Linked DNA regions of Homo sapiens: region 1 is linked to region 2. The links are contacts of gene promoters, found by promoter capture Hi-C in human tissues and cell types (Jung and others, 2019). All regions are on one chromosome and are shown on one strand. Each heading gives the region's core, a stretch centred on a gene start or on the middle of the fragment in contact. The rest is flanking DNA. Distances are from core to core; before and after follow the strand shown. Region 1 overlaps SNX19 (sorting nexin 19). Region 2 holds the start of ST14 (ST14 transmembrane serine protease matriptase).

The links. The method cuts DNA at HindIII sites, captures the fragments that hold promoters and counts their contacts. A contact is called where the count stands out against the background at its distance.
Region 1: a contact is called between a fragment that was not itself captured here and the fragment with the promoter of ST14 in region 2, in 2 of the 25 tissues and cell types used here (spleen and thymus).

What each region holds. Positions count from the first base shown.
Region 1 is chr11:130,903,139-130,907,011 of GRCh38, reverse strand. SNX19 (sorting nexin 19) reads left to right here. Exons shown (of 11, transcript NM_014758.3): 6 at 291-387; 7 at 879-1,059; 8 at 3,628-3,757. Among named protein-coding and RNA genes, the nearest start is that of SNX19, 11 kb to the left of the region's middle. The HindIII fragment of the contact is 6,489 bases long and covers 1-3,873 here.
Region 2 is chr11:130,158,225-130,161,791 of GRCh38, reverse strand. ST14 (ST14 transmembrane serine protease matriptase) reads right to left here and starts at 2,010. Exons shown (of 19, transcript NM_021978.4): 1 at 1,732-2,010. The coding sequence starts at 1,812. RefSeq lists an enhancer at 275-774 and silencers at 1,862-1,931, 2,012-2,131. The HindIII fragment of the contact is 3,998 bases long and covers 1-3,022 here.

The sequences.
Region 1 (3,873 bases), core at 997-3,496, 740 kb before region 2:
ATAACCATAATACACACTGATGCCAGTTTTACTTAGCAGAAACCATTTCACAAGTGCACTGTAGACATAGCTTAGTGTATGCGTTAACATTATCTATCAAGAATTGCCAGAATATACATTGTTTGGGGGATTGCAGGGCCGAGTCTTTCCTGGCAGCTCTGACCACAGTAAGCTCCCCAGAATAAGTATGGATATTCTTGTTGTGTTTTATTATCAGTACTTGCCAGCCCTTAGTGTGAGGCTCAAGGCCATAAATTACAACCTGTTTCTGCTCTTTGTTTCTGTACCAGGTCTAGGCTGAGGTTCTCATCCAGTAAAATTTCTCCAGCACTAAGTGTGACTGAAGCACAAGACAAGATTCTTTATTGTCTCCAGGAAGGCAATGTGGTAAGAACCAAAACCCAGAGAATGTGAGGCAAAAATATCTGAGATGTTGGTCCTGCAGTTACAGGTAGTTGAGATATTCTCTGAAGTCAGAAATGTCCTGCTAAATGACTTAATCAACGTTTGGATCTCCAGCTTTTATGCTAAAAGTATTTTCTCTAAGTGGTTTGGAATTCCTACCAGTTCTGGGTTGGCAGGTTGGCTTCTCAACCATGGTGGGTTTCGGATAATGGATGACAAGATAAGAAAGAAAGCTAGTTCCTGGAAAAAAAAATGGATGACCAAAAATGGGTGCAGAAATGATAATCCCAGGGCAGGCCTGTTTTACTTGCAACTTCGGTAAAAAATAAAATCTTTCCTAAAGGAGTCATAGCATCAGTTGGGTTTTATACCCAAGGTACTTATGCAGGGGAGAGGCAGGGAAACCTAGAGTGCTGCATTTGCTCCCCTACTGTCAGCATTCCATATGTGATATGCCACTGACTATTTCTTAGGAGTCTGAGACTCTATCCATGTCTGCGATGGAATCTTTTATTGAAAAACAGACAAAGTTACTGGAAATGCAGCCAACAAAAGCCCCAGAAAAAGATCCTGAACAACCTCCCAAAGGACGTGTGGACAGTTGCGTGTCAGATGCAGCCGTGCCAGCCCAAGACCCCAGCAACAGCGATCCAGGTGAGTGGCGAGGTCTCTGCTCCCATGGAGAAGGGAGCCAGGGTGGCATCCACTTGGTACTTGGGGTAGTTGGAGTTTGTAACTTTGATTTCTGTTCCATTCAGCTGAGCATGCCATGTGTTGAACTCCAGTGTTGGAGGTGCTGTGTTGGGGCACAGAGATGAGTAGTACATAGTTGCCACAGCGGAATCAAGCAGCAGAACAGGGCACAAACACAGGAAGTTCTAATCCAGCAGGATGAGATCATGCTGATAATATTGATAACTCATTAAACTTATTTTTGGCATGCTTTGGCATATCAGACTCTTGCATTTCTTAGAAACTTTCTTCCCTTAGTGTCTCAGTTTCCTGGTTTCCTTCATGCCTTTTTCGTGGCTTCTTAGTCCACTCTGTTGGCTCCATGATCCACCTGCCAGAGCTTGATTTTTGGCTCGCTGTCCTTATTCTACACACTCTTCCAGGGTGACTCCAGCTGTAGTGTTGGCTTCAGCTCTAACATGTGTGTGGTGATGCCTTAAACATTGAATATTGTATATCTTCACTTGGATATACCACAGGGCAACTGAAATGTAACGTGTTCAAGATGGAAATTGTCTTTTTTCCCCAGATCTATTCTTTTTATCTTTATTTACTGCCATGGCAGATGATACCACCTAGTTACCCAACATAAAGTAGGGAGGGAGAAGAGGTGAAAGCTTTACTTTCTCCTTATATGCATTGGAGGCAGAGCAATTTTGCCTTCCAGGAGAAGAAGAGCAGATGTGTACTCTGTAGAAGAAAAATTCAAAGCCCTAGATATTAATCAGTATGGTTACTGAACAAGAACTTAAAATAAGTATATCAGTTCCATCAAGATAAAGCCCTCTGTTGAGAATAAAAGATCACAAAATCTTGGATTCAAAACTGGGGAAAAAGCTGATTTCACTATTCTTTCTGAGGTGCCCATGAACAAATCACCTGACATCTCTTCTGAGGGCCTCAATTTAAGTCTGTGAAAAATGGGGTTGACAGCCCCATCCCTTCACACATCTCACAGTTAACTAAATGAAGTGATATGACAGTGAAAGCATCAGAGAACTCTAAGAGACTGTAAAGATGGTGGGGGGCAGGGTCAGTGTGGTAAGAATATCATTCTAGGCAAAGTCCAGCCTGTACATGTTGAACATCATATCTCTAGAGGGATGGTTTAGGCCTGAAACCCTTCTTCTATCTCTGAGAGACTCAAAATGCTCATATGATTATAAAAAACAAAAAAAAATCTACCATTTTCTTTAAGGCAACTGACTTGGTGGTACCTTGTTTGCTTTCTTATTTTTCACTGCTGTAACTAATTGTTACCACATGGTGGCAGCTCCAAGCAAATGCTAAACCTGAGAGAATCATACAATTGAGGACTAAGGCTCAGGATGATGCTGTCTCCCAAGGAATGCAATATTCCATCTTTGAGAAGATGATTAGAAATCACACAACATATCAGCTCCCAATCCTTGCAATACAAACAGAAAAGAAAATATGTATTATATAGGGTTAAGAGGGAAGTATGATTCAGTTCTAGTAGATCTGTCCAAATCGGAAGTCATTCATGTTCAAGGAGAGCTTGGGCAAGGTGATCCAGAGAGTATCCGTTTGTCCTACACTAACAAAGTCATTGTTGATATTACTTATAATATTAATCACAGCAGTGGCACCAGATATCTCAGATCCATTCTGTAACATCACATACTTGGAGGCAAATCAGACGTGACATTGGAACCCCAGGACAGGTTTAAACAGCACGTGCTTCCTTCCACAAAATACATTTGTTCAGGAAACCTTAGTTTAGCATGGGTATAAGCTCATTTGTGGCCCTTACAGTCTTTGAAACAGGAAAGAACGTAGTAATTGTTATGGCATTTTACCAGAGGTGTGGTGTTCTTCCTAGAACCACATGTTATCTCAAAATCAGACTGAAGCCTCCTGAATCCTAACCCCACAGCTCTGTGTAATGGAGGTTTTTCAGGAAAGTGAATGCCAACTCTTTCCCCACTTCTGCCACGGTGTTTCCATAATGCTTTGTGGGGGCGAGTGGAATGCAAGGTTGGAAAGAGAGGAGGCCTTGCCAGTTACACTTAGTCACTAGTTGTGATTTTCTTTGGAACAGAAAGTATTCAGCATCCTGGGGAAATACAGAAGAAATAGAAACTAAGTAGGCAAAATAAGTGCGTGTGTGTGTGTGTGTGTGTGTGTGTGTGTGTGTATGTGTATATATATATATATGTATATATACACACATATATATATTTAGCAGATATATATATAATTAGAAGATATATATCTTTTAAAAACATAGAAACATTTATTAGGTTACAATATCAGGAACATTAATAAAAATTGTAAAGAAATGCTGAGCCTGTCACTGAACCTTCTAGATATGAGTTAAACCTCTTTTGATTTGAGTGTAGAGGGATTGCAAAAATACCAGATGATTGGCATGAAGGTAGAGAGACACAGGTGCCACCAGTACCTTGAAAGATGTTCCTCAAGTATGGGTCTCTTCTGAGTTACTCCTGATGCCATTTTATCCCTCAGGAACAGAGACAGAGTTAGCTGACACAGCCCTGGATCTGCTCCTCTTGCTACTAACAGAACAGTGGAAATGGCTATGTACCGAAAACATGCAAAAGTTTCTTCGTCTTATCTTTGGGACCCTAGTTCAAAGGTAAGACTGCTGAATTCTCCCTCACATCAGAATCTCAAGTTGCAGAGAAGGTGGATGTGATGCTGAATAGTGTCCAGGGAATCTGCAGCCGTAAGAGAAGATAGATTCTCTGTTAC
Region 2 (3,567 bases), core at 761-3,260:
GTACTGAGTTAGTTCAATAAAGCTCGGCAGGAGAAAAGACAAAGAGCAAGCCAAGAGAATGAAAATGGCAGAGGGGGAAGGAACAGCCCAAGGGCGCAGAGAGCAAATGAGCTTCGCAGAGGAGGAGGAAATGAGCAGGGATGGGGGAAACTAAAGCCAGGGCTTGCAGGTGACAAGACAAGTCCGCTGAATGTGGGATCCTGGGGGTGAGTGGAAGGTGAGCCCCAGCCTGGCTGCTTGTCAGGTGGTGAGATGGCTCAGAGAGGAGGCTGGACCACACGACCAGGAAGACCCTGCTTTCCCCGTGTGGGCAGGAGAGTCCTAGAAAGGGAAGTCAGGGAGAACAAACTTGGGGTGGGGGCACCGGACTGCCCTGAAATAACAAATTCCAAACAGCAGGTTCTCTGCTGAAGAGGCAGGGAGTCTAGAACCCCAAGTAGGCAATTAGCAAGGACACAAACATAGCAATTACAGCAAGGAAGAGAAGGTGAATCTGCCTCACAGCAGGGCACAGGCACAGCCAGGGGAAGGGCCCAAGCCTTCAGGTCCACTGGAAGCTTTCCTCCTTGCTGAGGGTGAAAAGTGGAGAAAATAGCAGAGCCCAGCCCCAGGTCCTGTCTGTGGTGCAGGCAGCCTCCAAAGCCCCAGCGTCTGATTTTCTGCAAGCTCCCTAGGTCGGGATGCTGCTTGGACAAAAGGAATTGATCTGAGACAGCACCAAAATCAGGCCTGACTTAGGGAGCAACGGCGGAGACTATGGAGCCCAGGGGCACCCGGAAGGAGGGGAGAAAGTGAGGGTTGGCAGGGCAGGGAGGCCATCATTTGCAGAGGAGCAAAACTCTCTGCCACACAGCCCCTGCCTCTCAGCGCCGCCCTGACCTGGTATGCCCTGGCCTTCCAGGAAACCTGGGGGTCTGCCTTGGACAGAGAGGGTAGAGACCTGGCTGCTGGTCCCGCCCGGGCACTACCACCTAGGTGGGTCCGTCAATGAAGTGACTAGCGACCCATCCCCAACTCCATACAGGAACATGTAATCTTTTTGAGATCTTTCAATAGGTCTTTCATTGTTCTTTCTGCCAAAGAAGAGCTTCCTGTTTCGGTACTTCGCAAAAGGCTCAAGACATGTGTGTTCCCACATCCCTTCCCATACAGCCGCCTTCCCAAAGGGCTCCATCCCCTCTCGAGAAGCCCAGGCAAGCCCAACTCTGGAGTTCTTAGCTCCAGCCCGTATGGCAGCCAAAGCCCTGGCCTCCCAGTTGTCCTCTGCGAGGTCCCAAAGCGCCTTTTGACGGGGAAGGAGAGAGACGAAAGAAACTTTCTGCAGAGGCCAAGGATGGCTGAGACTCCAAACCCTCCTGAAATTTCACTTCCTCCCAAATAACCCCACTCCAAGCCCCTGGTTTCTTCCAGATGTTCACTAACAGCGCGAGAGTCATGGAGGGGCCGAGACGGAGCCCCTTTTTTCAACTCAGGGAAAGAAAGGACCGAGGGCGCAGGAAGGCCCAGGGGCTTCCCGCCTCCCCCTGGCGGGGCGCAGCCGGTCCGGTACCAAAGGTCCGGCCAGCCCCGCCCGCCCGCGGCCCGGCACCCGCTGAACAGGAAATTCCACCTGTGCGCCCAGAGCTCGGCCACCGACGGACACGCCAGGGGAGCCGGCCGAGCCCAGCGCCGCGCTGCAGGGTCGGGCGGGCAGGAGCTTCCCAGCGCCCCGGGTCCCCGGCCCGCGCTCACCTCGTGCCGGGAGTTGTACTTGAGTCCCGCGCCGAAGTCCTTCGGGCCCCCTCCGCCCTTGCGGGCCCGATCGCTCCCCATGGTCCCCGAGGCCGCTCGCGGGTCTCACAGGCGTCGTCCCTGCCGGCGGCCGGCTCCCATGGCCCGCAGGGCGCGGGGCGCGGGGCGCAGGCGGCGGGATTCCGGGCAGGCCCAGCGCGCCCGACCGGCGGCGGTGCCCTCGCCCTGGCGCGCTCTCTCTCCCTCTTCCTCTTTCTCCGGCTGCAGCTCCGCTCTCACACTCCGGCCCGGCCCACGCAGGTAGTTTCAGGGTGTGGCCTCGGCCCGCCCAGCCCGCCGCGCTCGCCTGCGCACCTGCCCGGCTCACCTGCCCGCCCCCGCCGGCCCTGGGGGAGGCTCCTCCCCTCGGCTCTGGGCCTGAAGGTGAGGGGGCCTCACTCGGGTGGTGGTCGCTAAGGCCCTCACCATCACCACGACGGCGTTCACCACCCCTCCGGCCCTCCAGGGGCCCTGCCCCGGGAGGGCAGCCCTTTATCCACCTCCTTGATGCCAACCATCTTTTCCCTCCTCCCTCATGCGCCTCCGGTCTCTCCCCTTCACCTTGCTCACTTTGCTACAGGACTAAATCGCATTTATGAACCCCCCAAAACCAAACAGAAACCAGAACCGCCCCTGGCCCAGGCTCCCCGTCGGCTACGCAGCCTCCTGTTCTCCAGGCGGGAGGCGCTTGCTGGCCTGCGCCCGGCTACCCTGGGGAGGCCCAGTGACATGAGCTGTGCCACCAGATGCCCTCTGAGCCATCCCAACGCCCCTCGCCCACTTGCAGCATCTGATGCTTCCTCAAATGCCCCCTTTCCCTGGATTCCGGTCCTCCTTTCTAGTCCTAAATGTCATGATTCCCAAAGTTCTCCCTTCAGTTTCATCCCTTTCTTCTCTAAGCTTTTTCTCTTGGCAGCACGTCTCATCTTACGACTTCAGACAGGAAGACCTCCCTCCCAGCACAGACACCACCAAGGAGTGCCAGTTCTGCCTTAGCGGTCGCCTGGGGACGTCTCCATTTATGTTCTACTGTATTCTGTAGCCAATGAACATTACCAAGCACACACTAGGCGCTAAGCACTGTCCTGGGTACAGGGAAACAGGAGTGAACAAAATAAAAATCCCTGCTTTGAGATCAACAAGCCCCATCTTCCTTCCCTGACTTGCCCATTTTCCACTGTTTTCTCTAATTCTAATGGCAGCATTCTCCCAGGCTCAAATCCTGGAATCATCTTTGATTCTCCACCCTGCTTACATCTCATATCCAATTAGTTCCAAATCTGATCAAGACTCTGCTGACAAGCATAGCCCTTCCATTCCTGCGCATTAGAAGACCGCTATTCGAGTCCTCAGAGCCCTTTGCCTGGTTAAGAAAGATCTCCTGCCTCTGGGCTGCCACCCTCTGATCTCTCCTACACAAAGCAGTCAGGTAAATCTGAAACCACAGCTCCTTTATGACTTTCCGTGTCTCCCGGATCAAATCCAACCTCCTTAGCCCAGCTTCACACTCTGCCCTGTCCTCCCTTAACACCGTGCCTCCAAGCATTCCTGTTTGGAGCCCCTCTCTCCAGCCAGGCGTTCTGATCTTGGCAGCTTTCATAAAGCTTTTCATCCCCTGGAAGCTCTTCTCCTTCATACTCCTTCCGCATATTGGGTCGAAGACACCGATGGGGTTTTTTAGTGTTGTTCATTGAATGTTTTTAGCTCTCTGCCTTCTGGGCACAGGCCAGGGTGTTACTCTCTCTTCTCTGAAGTTAGGTATGGCAGTATGGCTAGCGGTAACCAAGAAAATGTCCA